Linked DNA regions of Homo sapiens: regions 2 and 3 are each linked to region 1. The links are contacts of gene promoters, found by promoter capture Hi-C in human tissues and cell types (Jung and others, 2019). All regions are on one chromosome and are shown on one strand. The core of a region is centred on a gene start or on the middle of the fragment in contact, and the rest is flanking DNA. Distances in the headings are between cores, read along the strand shown. Region 1 holds the start of MCTP1 (multiple C2 and transmembrane domain containing 1). Region 2 overlaps MCTP1 (multiple C2 and transmembrane domain containing 1). Region 3 has its middle 33 kb from the start of MCTP1.

Region 1 (4,206 bases), core at 886-3,385:
TGACCTTCACCCAATTTCCCCCAATGATATTATCATACATAACTATAGTTCAATATTAAGACCCAGGAAATTGCCATTGGTACAACTTATCTTATTCAGATGTCACGTTTTTATGTGCATTCATATATGTATGTAGTTCTATGCAGTCCTATCCTGTGTATAACACACATTCATGTAACCACCACCACAATCTAAATTTGTCTCATCATAACAAATAAACTTCTTTATTCTGATCCTTTACATTTGCCCCACCGCTAACCCCTGGCAACCACTATCCATCTCTATAATCTTGTCATTTCAATAATATTATTTAAATGCAGCCCAGTGTTTCTCCATTCACGTTGCTCTTTTTCCAAAGCATAGTATTCATATACTTGGGAAATACTGGGTCTACCAAATAACAATAATATCAACTATATACAGGCACTGAGCTAAGTCCTTTTTCCACTTAATCTTCAAAATAGCCCTGTGAGGCTATTTATTAATACCTGGCATTAGTATTAGTAAATCACATCACATTACCCTCACGATTAAAAAAGACCTCTAATGTCTCCCAATTTCATTTAGAGGAAACATGGACTCTCACTCTGGCTATAGGACCCACTCCCTTAGCTGACCTTTTGTTTCACTACATCTCTTACCAACCCCACCCACCTTGCTCTACTCTATTTGGAGTGGTATCGTTCTGTCCTTGAATATGCCCAGTCAAGCTGCTTCCTGCCTCAGGACCTCTGTATCTGCTGTTCCTTCTACCTGAAATTCTACAGTCAGATCCGTCAATAGCTGGTTCTCTGTCCTCATTAAGTCTTAACTCAAAATTTTATCTTCTCAGAGAGACTCTCCCTGTACACATAATGTAAAAAACCAAAAACCTCTCCATATGGGGCTGCCAGATTTAGCAAACAAAAACATGACACCCAGTTAAATTTAAATTTCAGATAAATAATAGTATTTTAGTATAAGTATGTCCCATGCAATATTTGGGACATACATATACTAATATTATTCATTGTTTCTCTGAAAGTCAGTTTAATTGGGTGTCCTGCATTTTGTCTGGAAGCTCTTCCTCTGTAGCCACTCTGTTATGTGGTACCCTGCTTAACTGTTTCCATGGGACTTTTGCATATTAGAAATTCTGTTTATTGTCTCGCATCACCTCCCAACCCTCACCCTCACAATAAGCTCCATGTGGGTGGGACCCTGATGCCCTGTTCACAGCTGCATCCCCAGAGCCTATCACAGTGCCTGGTATATAGTAGGTGCTTAATAAATATTTGTTATAAAGGTAACAAAAACAAAACAAAACAAAAAACTTAGGTTGGTAACACCTCCAAAGCATACTGCTAGCTAGACAAGACTGATCAGTGTGCTACCGCAGCTTAGGGAACTCTCCCGTTTTCCCCATTTAGGAGGACGAAAGAGGCATTGTGTTGCTGGCCTTTCAGAAGTCTCTCCTAGCAGAATCAGAAGACCCTGGCTGAGCAGCTTTGGGAGAAGCAAAGTCTGAATGAGCTAAAAAGCCTTTTCCGTTTGCCTTGCAACAAGCAAATGAAGTAACCAAAGAAAAAATGCGCTTGAATGAAAAGAACAAGATTCTGTGCGTGCCGAATCGGATCAAAGGCAGTGCGCATCACCCATCTTCGTCCACCGTAAACTCCCTGCAACTTAAGGGCTGGCTTTATCGTCAGACTCCGGAAATGCTAGAACCTGATCATAAGAGACCAGTGCAGAGGCAAATAAAGAAAAGGGAGGGGTGGATGGGGATGAAGTCAAGACAGAAGAAATTAAACTCTCGTCTTGGACCCAGGGAGCGCAACGGGGCGGGGGCAGACGTCTTCAGCTTTAGAACTCCGTCGGGTTCATCGCTCAGTGTGGACGATCGGCGCCCCCACGAGACCCATCGAGGGCACATAGTTTCCACTCCAGCTCGCTTCATCCGACCCAGACGATCGCCAGCGCGGCCAGCGGCCAGCGCACAGCGAGCTGCCTGGGCAACTGTGGCCGGATCCTAGGGAGCAAGCTGGCTTCGGGCCCTACCTAGCTCCACCCGGCTCCTACCGGCCCTCCCACCTAGGAGCTGGAGGATGGTCCCGGGGCGCCCCAGGGGGACTGCTGGTCCCCGGAGTCTCCAGCCAGACGCGCCTTGTTGTGTGAGCCGCGTGCGCGCCCAATTTGGAGGCAGCCGCCCCCGCCGCTGACAGGTGCTGCCCAGAGGGCGCCGGGTGCGGTCCCTGGCGCAGCTGGACGCGCACGCCCCGGTGCGTGCAGCTTCCCGAGCTCGGTCAGAGAGAAGAGGGAGCCAGGGCGCGGCCTGGGGGACGCCAGTGGACTGGAGCCGCGGAGCTTCGAGGGAAAAACTTTGCAGGCGCCGCGGCCGGGATTCGGTTACGGCTCCAGCCCACCCCAGCAGGTGCGGGAGGAAGAGGCAGCGCCGGAGTCCCGAGGCCAGAGAGCCTCGGCGGCGGCGGCCGCTTCTTTCCCCCGAGCTGGCCTGAAGTCGCTGGGCACTCCCGGTTTCTGCTGCTGCGCCCGCCGCCGCCGCCGCCGCCACCGCCAGCGCCGCGGGGACCCGGGAGGAGGTGCAGCCGAAGAGGGAGGAGAAGCAGGAGGAGGAGGAGGAGGAGGAGGGGAGAGGAGGAGCAGGGGGTGGAGGATGGAGCCCCGGGCTGCCGCGGCGGGCGAGCCAGAGCCGCCGGCGGCGTCCTCCTCCTTCCAGGCCCGGCTCTGGAAGAACCTGCAGCTGGGGGTGGGCAGGAGCAAGGGCGGCGGGGGCGGGCGCGCTGGGGGTCCAGAGCGCCGCACTGCGGACACCCCGTCGCCCTCCCCGCCACCCCCGGTGGGCACAGGGAATGCACCGGCCAGGGGGAGTGGTGCAGGCAGCAGGTGGAGCGGCTTCAAGAAGCGGAAGCAAGTGCTGGACCGAGTCTTCTCCTCCTCGCAGCCCAACCTGTGCTGCTCGTCGCCGGAGCCCCTGGAGCCCGGCGGCGCCGGCAGAGCCGAGCAGGGGTCCACGCTACGCCGCCGGATCCGCGAGCATTTGCTCCCCGCCGTAAAGGGGCCCGCGGCGGCCTCGGGAGCAGCGGGAGGGACGCCTCCTGGCGGACGCTCCCCCGACTCAGCTCCTTCCTCTTCCTCCGCCTCATCCTCCCTGTCCTCCTCGCCCCAGCCTCCCCCGAGGGGGGACCGCGCCCGAGATGAGGGTGCACGGCGTCAGGGCCCCGGGGCGCACTTGTGCCACCAGAAGAGCTCCTCTCTGCCGGGCACCGCCTGCCTGGAGCAGCTGCTGGAGCCGCCGCCTCCTCCCGCAGAGCCGGCGCGGAGTCCCGCGGAGTCTCGGGCCCCGGAGACGGGCGAGGAGCACGGCAGCAGCCAGGTGAGTGCCGGTGGCGCGGCCGGAGACAAGGTGCGCGGGACCACGCCTCCCTCTTCAGGCGTTCACCACCCGGGGAGCGGGGGGCGGGGGCCGGGAGGCGGGAGGAGAAATGCTATTAATTCTAAGTAGATGAAACAGTCGAAAGAAAACATCTCGCTCTGGTTTAGCAAAGATGAAAGAGTTCTGACTTGCACCCGGACTTTACTTTTGGTAGAAATGATACCTGTCACCAGAAGCTTTCTGAGTAGTCAATGAAAAGTTAGACCTAAAGTGGGTACTTTTTAGAGTTCTCCTGAAAGGAGATGTCCAGCCAAATCTCATCTTGGCAAAAGAAAAAACTAACCCAATAACTTAAAAACAATTACGATCACGTGTGGTGGTGTGGAGAGGTACCATTGGAAGCAAATGGCTGGCGGGAAGAAATAGAAACGTGGAGAGGTAAATTATGGCACATGTGAGGTCCTGTGCCAGGGAAAGCATCATCTCAGGCCTGCATCCGGCACCCCTTTCTTAAACCTTCCTGCTGCAATTGGATCACCGCCCTTCAAGTGGACAGCGGGAGCGTCTCCTCCCAGTTAGTCAAATGCATATGTTCCTATGAGCCTTGTGAAGTTTTAATAGTCACCTGAAGCACTTGCTTTTTAAAGTATGCTGCTTTATACATCATGTTGATTGCTCAGACAAGAGTCAAGGTTTGTAAAAGTGCTTTTACTAGAAATTTTATGTGTGGGACCCACAATGTGTCCCACTGAATAGCCGTTTTTACTCCCTCAATTTCGAAGAGGCACTGCTCTTTTTGTAAATGTTTATCAAATCATTTTAATTCTAGAAAA
Region 2 (4,206 bases), core at 513-3,012, 47 kb after region 1:
CTTTAGAAATTAGAAAAGCAAAGAAGAGAGTAGTAAACATGTACCCAGGAGTTTCTGTAACTTAATACTGGAAAATACCTATATCAAGAGAAAATAATTAGCAAAGTCATTGAACATCTTTAACCCAAGCCAGGTAGCCTCTGAATTAAGACATTTAGTCTTCAATTACAGACCTCTAGGAATGACTCCTGTTTCTGTTTTGTTTGATTTTCACAAGTCTTATAATTCATCCCCAGAACTAGACTCATCAGATATGTCTGGTGGCAACATCTTTAATTAAACTCTTTATTAAAATCTACAGCTGTCAAAATAAATAAACCTTAAAGCACAGAAATAAATTTGAGAGGGCTTTTCCATTAAGGCATTACCTGGAAGAGATTTTTCCAGAAAATTGAGTGCTCGGACAATGATCACTGTCATAATTTGGGCTAATTGTGGTCATAGAAAGTTTAGGAACTTGAAAACCCCCAAAGCCTAAACTGATTTAAGACTGCCTATTCTGTTTCTGCGCGTCTTCAGGAGATTTCTCCAGGGTGCTTAGATGTGCATCATAACATTTTCAGAATTTTGCCACTGGAGGGCTCAATGGCCTTTTTAATGTTTCTTCTACGAGACCAAATGTTACGTTTGTGTAACAGTGAGATGTGAGACCAAGTTTTTTCTCCCCTTTTTGAGAAAATCTGTTTTGGGTGGTACAGTTAGATGCATGATAGCCAAAAAGCTTTTGTAAATTCCCTGAAAGATGGAAATTTGTCATAGCTACATGTATACTGAAATCAAAAAGGATGCCATTCATCTCTCCCCAGAGAATACAAGGGAATTGAGATTATACCGAGCAAGGCTTGTGCTGAGTTAGATGTGCTGCATATACGCGGTGTGCTTGTGTATGTATGCTGGTGGCAGTGTGGAAGGTGGTGGAATAGTGAGGGCTTAGGGGTCTGTAGTCATCCAGGAATTGTATGATTAATGTAGTTGGTATGAGAATGAGAATAATTTTAAGGACTAATTGGAAGAATATGAGGCTTGGTATCAGGCGACTAGTGATCATGCATTGTTCCAGGATTCCTGCTGCATGTTCGGTTATAAAGGTTGTGACGGCAGTTCTGCTTTTCCTGAATGAGCTATGTGTGCCTGTGGTCCAACCTCTCTGAGGCTGGTCCTGGATCCTGGACTGAGCAAGTGAACTCTGATATGAGTGACACATTGATTTGGCATCTGCGTAATTTTTTGTGATGTTTAGGAGTAACAATGAGGTGTTATGAAAAAAGTTGGAAACAGTGTTAGCCCCCATGCAAAAGTATAAAATCAACATAAAGCAGAGAGATAGAAATATCAGAATGCCTCTCCCAGAATGTAGCAAAAACGCAATTCTATTACATTTGGTATATGATTAAGAGTTAACTATAAACTAACTGAAAGATTCACGTATTTAATGATTAATAATAATATACCAATCCAAAGACAGATGGCTGCTCAGACTGAAACCTCCTTGCAGGTAGCGGAGAGTCAGAGAAAGAAACTGTGGAGAGGCTGGCCTAAGAACTGCCCAAGGAGACCGGCATGGGAACGTCAATTCTTGTGACTTTCTCACATGGCGATGGATGTTTGTTTCTTCTAAAATTTTGAATCACTAACAAATTTCCCTTGTTCCGATTTCATGCTGCTTCTGCTACATTTGGTTTATGAGTTGGCCTTTCATAGATTTGCTACTGCAGAGAATGTACTGGTCATATCAATGTGAATATTCAGATCCATATGTCAGTTATGGTTTGCAGATTGGCCCAGCATCTCGTGTGGCATGCTGAAGGAATCAGGCTCTGTCTTAGCAGAGTCAAAAACAAGGCTCTGGATCATGGTGAATTACCCAAGGTAAATGCTATTTCTTAGGCTACTTGCAGCTTGCCAATTGCCCATTCCAATCTCTACAAGTCCCACTAGATGTTTCACAGAATAAAGCAAAAAAAGAGGCTGGGATCACGAAAATGAATTTTCGAAGAGAAATATCAAGAATTATAATTATACATTTTCTCATCATGTTTTATTAATGAATCAAAGGAGTTAGTGAGCATTTATTTTCCTCTCTTGTGTTCCACTGCAATTTGCCAGGGAAATAACATGGACTCTTTCTCTCCCTTTCAACTCTGGTTTTCTTGCTGTGAAAGAGCAGCCATAACTTCTAGCAAAGGTTCCTGAGGGAGGCAGCAAGTAGCCACCCAGGAGCTTTAGGATGGGGCTTCCTATCTCAGTCGTGCCTAGAGGAACTGAAGCAGTTCTTAATGTACTGGTTTGAGGTCCGTCTTACCAGAGTTCCAACCCACCGCATGTCCCTAGTGGTCTATTACTTACTCCGTTATTTTTAATGGCAAAAACCGTTACTTTTAATGGTTACTTTTGCACCAACCTAATATTTCACAGCCACTCTCCTGGATGTTTCTGGGGAGCTTCAGTCTAGGCTCAGACATGGTGCCTGCTGGTTCTGGGAAAAGGTTAAGGGGCTGAGTAGTAGCACACACTACATCCTCCAGACTGTCTATGCCATGGCTATGTTTGGAAACCCTGCAAATGGCCTGGCAGAGTCTCACCTTGCCAATCCAGAGAGGATGTGGGGGATTTCTGGCTTAAGAATAGGCTGAAAAGAGGGACTGGAGGTTACTGCCACATAGCCAAGCATTCCTGGGAACTTTCTGGGAATGTGAACTGATATGAAAATGGCTTAGACTACAAGAATTATAGGGAAATATCAGAATACCCACCTAAAAATGGCTTAAATAAGAAGGCCATTTTAAAGCTTACTTCATGAGGAATTTTGAAATAGGCAGTTCCAGGGTCAGTTTGGCTGCTCAACAGAGTCTTCAAGGACGGAGGCACTCTTCATAATTCTCTTCTGCCATCATCAGGATTCAGTGAAATCTCCCTCTATGGTCACAGGATGACTCCAGCAGTTCTGATTATCCTGGGTTCCTGGATGTGTTATGTGCATTTTTATAAATGTTTTTGTGATTTTTCGGAGGGAGACAAATAGTAGACAACTCAGCCCATATCTACTATTTGTGGGATGTTCCCATTATCACCCAACAGGCTTCATCTTAGGTATTTTTGGTCAGAACTAAATTGCATATTGACTTTTTATACCGTAATCAGCAAAGACTATATATAACCTCTATCTGGACCAATCACAATTGACCTCCTGGGGATAAGCATATGGCTACTAGACAGTCCTCACGGGAAGTAAGGGAGAAGACATAAAGGAAGATGGCCAGCTATTAACTATTTTTTCCAGGATCTGAAAAGAAAACTGGGTTAAATTACACTAAAGAGAATTTAGAATGGCGTTTAGGAAGAAAGTGCAGACAAGAAAGTGGTATTGTACAATGGATCACATTATTGAACTTGTGCATATATATTCCCTATCTTCTAAAAACAGAATGAATAGATTTTGACTAGGACATAATTCATCCTTGCTTGGAGCTTGGAAGATGCAGTAAATTACCTTAAAGCATTTTCTTCATCATGTTGTTAAGAGAATATCATCAGCAAGGAATTAGTTAAGAATTGTATTAAAATTGTAAAAATGGGCATGGCCTCCTCTGCTTTGAAAGATCTATAAGTTCAGAAGTCCCAATCTGTTCCATTTTTGTGACCGTGTTCTTCCAGTTGAGTTAGTCTTAAACTTTACTGTGTTTAGAATTAATTGGGAGCTTGTTAAACATACAGATCCTTGGGCACCACTTTCCATAAATGTTGCTTCAGTAGGTTTATTAGTTTTCTGTATCTCCATAATTAATTATTAAACTTAGTGACATAAACAATAGATATGTATTATTTCACAGTACTGTAGTCAGAAGTAGCTCAGGGAGGCTCAACTAGGTTCTCTACTCCAGCTCTTACAAGGTTGACATCAAGGCATGAGCTGCACTGACCTAGTAGCATTTTTGTAGAATCATCAGATTTTCCACAAAGATGATTATGTCATCTGTGAATAAAGACAGTTTTACTTCTTCCTTTTTTGGTGAATAAGCAATAGGTATTTATTAAATGAGCAGATGGAATAATTATCACAATGTGATACAGTTACATTTTCATTATTATTGCACAATACACTTTTTAAAAAAAATTTCTAACTTTTATTTTAAGTTCAGGCGTATACATTCATGATGTGCATTTTTCTGGAAGTTTAAGCCAGCATAGTAAGGAAAGAAAGAAAGA
Region 3 (4,206 bases), core at 838-3,337, 33 kb before region 1:
GCCTTAGCTTCCCAAAGTGCTGAGATTACAGGCGTGAGCCACCGTGCCCGGCCAGCTTTTGTGTTTTAATTCTTTACTATTTAGTATTCATATAGCAAACTTTATCCTACTTTAGAAAGTTATCTTTTGTTTATTTGAGGAGCAAAACTTCTCAACCTAGAGTAAGTACAGGATGGGTGGGATTTGTGCCCCTTGGTGGAATGTGAGTGTCATTTCTGAGAGAGCAGGGGCCGCGATGCTGCTTTCTTCATCAACCCCTCGTTGTCATCATCACTATTTTCAGCATTGCCCCTTACCATTTACTTTCACAGTCACCATCACTTTTTAATCTTCAGCACAACCTCATGATGGATTATTTTATAATTTCCATTTTATGAATGGGGACCAAGAGAGACAGAGGTTAAATGTTTCATTATCCACCTAGAAAGAAACAGAGGAAAGATTTTAATCTGAACCTTCCAGCTTCAAAACTCATTGCTATTTCTGTTATACAGTGTGTGTTCTACCTTGCCTAGCAGCAGGGCTTCAGATAATTATTTTAAATGAATGCATTTGAAAGGTCCTGTTGTCAGAACTGGTGTTGAAAAAGCAATAACCACCAGAAGACAAATGAAAGAGGGCCAAACCATAAACTGTACAATGTTTTTCCTGGCATCTCTGTTCCAAATGATTGTTTGTATTGGCTCCAGGAATAATATCATATTTCCTAATAAATGGCTAAAGCTGAAATTATTGCAAATTTTATGCAGAACACTATTCCTAATGGTGGGAGGAATGCATATTTTTCTCTTTCAGTTACATTTGTCCTTTTAAATTGTCTGGAAAGAAAATCCATTTTTATAGAGACTAACTGCTGTATAGGAGTTGATATGCCAAGTAATTTTTCTAATTGGTAACCAGATCCTAAAAGGTGAAAATATGCCAAGGATGCAATTCTCTTTGGGTTTGCACAGATTACAAAGAGTTTTTCATTCTTTACCACTGATTAATAGATTAATAGATTGGTGGCAAAGGATGAATATCTGAATTGCCACTGTTCACGGTAGGATTGGGCTCCACAATCAGTGTCATGAAGCTTCTCAAGGAACATAGATATTAATTGCCCATGTATTACCAGATAGCTGTTGCGCCATTATCAAATTAGTTAACATAGTGAACCGTTACTGCTTCAACAGGAATGCCACACTGTCTTCAGTTTGGTAGAAATGTATGCAATTTGAAATATTTCAGACTGTGAGAAGTTCCACACTGAAGACATGGTTAAGCAGGAGGACCTCTAGGGCTCCTTCCAACTCCAGAATTCTTTGAGTCTCAGTGGAAATCTTCCTTGAGCTGAGAGCCTCACACAGAAAGAAAGTATTTTGTGCTGAAAAACAAACAGACTTGATATAGGACAGACCTGAAATTGAATCCTGTCTATTCATTTACTGATTGTAGCCACACTCAAGTGCCTTCCTTTCTCTGAGCATCAGTTTTCTGTCTTTAAAATGGGTATAATATCCATCTCATTGTTTTGTTGGCAGAATAATTCAGATTATGCATGTAAAGTACATAGCAGAGGGTCTGGCACTTGGTTGGTGCAGAGTACATGTACCTCAAAACATGTAGACCACCCCAATTTTAGATGAGTGCTTGGGTCATGGTCAGGGGAAGGTCTGTAAGACTAGGAGTGATCTTGGAACATCCAAAAAGGACACAGGAGAGAAAAGAGAGAGAAAGAACAAGGGAGAAGGAGAAAGAGAGAAGAAGAGAGAAAAAGATGAGAGGAGAGGTGAGGGAAGAGAATAGGGAGGGGACGGGAGGAAAAAGAAACCTTTGTCTAGAGAGCCTTGGGTGGCTTTGATGAGAGGATACTTGGGAACAAGGAGTAGGCTGATGGGACTTGATTCAAGTTGACCTCCTAGTTTTTGCTTTAAAGTTGGCTCTTAGGAGATTTTTCATTACCATTAACTCATTTGTCAGCTGAAATAATTTTCAGATGATCTGTAACCAACCTTTGTTTCACTGGGAAGTAAAAATCCTTGTAAAACTGTGACTGCAGTTTATTCTCAGAGCAAATATATGATGGCAGGCAATGGATTACAGAAGCGTGTGGCACATAGCTGGGCTCCTGTCCAGGTCTGTTCTCCTCCCTGAGAGAAAGAAGCAAACAACATAAGCGAGATGGAACACCATCCCTTACTGTTGGGGTGGGGGGAGGATATTTTCAGCTCTGGAATGTGAGGATTTGCCTAATATTTCTAACTATGTATTTGCCAGAAAATGTGGCATCTAGGGAGATCAGGAAATGCAGTGACTGTGCCAGAATGTGGTGCCCTCCGCTTCAGTCTGGCATGTCAGCAACTGGCTGTGGCTGTTGGCTAATACTACTCAGTGGTGCTCGTGTTAATTCCCTTTCCAGTAGAAATTTCTTGTGGTTAATATCAGCAGCTACCATGTAGCAAGCATCATGCGGGCTTTTACATTTACTCTTTAAAACAACCATGTGAGGTAGGTGAGGAAACCAAGGCTCAGATAAATCCATTGGCTTGTATACACATGGCTATTGTCATCGGAAAGATTAAATATTACTCAAAAGGATGACCACAGTCACTGCATTAACATTCCAAGACAGCAATATAAATCAATTTCATGAGAGGAAATCCTATTTTTGGTTGTGTAAAGGAACCAACTACCAGTGAAGGATGGAGTCTGAGAAACTAAATTGCTGTGCATAATAAAGTAAAAGAAACATTTAGGTTGTCCGCTGGCGACTTGAGTAGAGGACAGGATTTCTGGAAGACTGAGGAAGGAATAGAATGGAGAGTCTTTTACAGGCAGAGTAGGCTGGCCACCTGGTGGCAAGTCAGAGCCTGAGGAAGAAAAAGACCCTCCTTTGATTGCAAATTATCTGTGTATTTCTAGGGACAGTGGAAGCTGTGTTCAATTCAAAGCTGGTTTCTGCACTGTGTGGGATTACTCTTAGTTGTAGTCAAAACTTAGTCAAACCTTGTTACATTTGAGAGTCTTGTGTTGTTAGCACTTTGGTTGTGGCCCATGTTTGGGGTAAAGGGAAGAAGAGAAAGAACAGCAGTTACTTCAGAGAAGATATGAGTAGTGATTGAGCGTCAGTCTGGGAGCAAGAATTTAGAGGAAGGAGAAATGGAAAAATGTATGTCCCTTCTCCTAGAATCCTCAGAAATATTGAGGAGGAGCTGGACTTCTCTCAGCACGTGAGTCATTTCATTTAGATTATGAAAGAAAGGATAAACCCAGAAAGTGAGTGATATGGTTTGGCTGTGTTCTCACCCAAATCTGATATTGAATTGTAGTTCCCATAATCCCCATGTGTCATGGGAGGTGCCAGATAGAGATAATTGAATCATGGTGGTGAGTCCCCCCATCCTGTTCTGGTGAGTGAGTTCTCAGGAGATCTGATGGTTTTATAAGGGGCTTTTCCCACTTTTGCCCCGTACTTCTCCTTGCTGCTGCCATGTGAAGAAGGGCATGTTTGCTTCCCCTTTAGCCACGATTGTAAGTTTCCTGAGGCCTCCCCAGTCCTGTGGAATCATGAGTTAATTAAACCTCTTTCCTTTAAAAATTACCTAGTCTCTGGCCAGGCGTGGTGGCTCACACCTAAAATCCTAGCACTTTGGGAGGCCAAAGCAGGCAGGTTGCCTGAGCTCAGGAGTTCGAGACCAGCCTGGGCAACATGATGAAACCCTGTCTCTACTAAAAATACAAAAAATTAGCTGGGTGTGGTGGTGCGCATCTGTAGACCCAGCTACCTGGAAGGCTGGGGCATGAGAATTGCTTGAACCCGGGAGGCAGAGGTTGCAGTGAGCTGAGCTCGCACCACTGCACTCCAGCTTGGGTGACAGAGCAAGACTCTGTCTCAATAAATAAATAAATAAAATAATAAAAATAAAAATAAAAGAAAAACCAGTCTCAGGCATGTCTTATAGCAGCATGAGAACGGACTAATACAGTGAGAGTCTTGGGGCTTTTTGATATTATTGAGTGACAGCAAAGATTTGGGGCCCAGATGTGCCTGACTACAAAGCCCAGCTCCTTTTTGGTTGCTCACTGCTCTGCACTGTGCTGACAGCATAGCACTAGTTCAACTGCACTAGTCTCAGATGCTCTGTGTTGATATCCCAGGCAGAGTGTACCCAACAGTGGGGCCTATCTTTTCCCTCTCAGCGTATAAGCATTATTGACCTTTTA

The links. Contacts are between HindIII fragments. The study calls those that stand out against the background at their distance.
Region 2: a contact is called between a fragment that was not itself captured here and the fragment with the promoter of MCTP1 in region 1, in 2 of the 25 tissues and cell types used here (adrenal gland and stomach).
Region 3: a contact is called between a fragment that was not itself captured here and the fragment with the promoter of MCTP1 in region 1, in 1 of the 25 tissues and cell types used here (psoas muscle).

Annotation. Positions count from the first base shown.
Region 1 is chr5:95,283,023-95,287,228 of GRCh38, reverse strand. MCTP1 (multiple C2 and transmembrane domain containing 1) reads left to right here and starts at 2,135. Exons shown (of 23, transcript NM_024717.7): 1 at 2,135-3,373. The coding sequence starts at 2,654. RefSeq lists silencers at 2,787-2,846, 2,927-3,046. The HindIII fragment of the contact is 12,418 bases long and covers 1-4,206 here.
Region 2 is chr5:95,235,523-95,239,728 of GRCh38, reverse strand. The region is part of intron 1 of MCTP1 (multiple C2 and transmembrane domain containing 1); the gene reads left to right. It overlaps LOC105379085 (a long non-coding RNA gene), which reads right to left. Exons shown (of 8, transcript XR_948575.3): 6 at 2,754-2,961. Among named protein-coding and RNA genes, the nearest start is that of MCTP1, 47 kb to the left of the region's middle. The HindIII fragment of the contact is 4,605 bases long and covers 1-4,064 here.
Region 3 is chr5:95,315,908-95,320,113 of GRCh38, reverse strand. No RefSeq gene overlaps it. Among named protein-coding and RNA genes, the nearest start is that of MCTP1, 33 kb to the right of the region's middle. The HindIII fragment of the contact is 5,677 bases long and covers 1-4,206 here.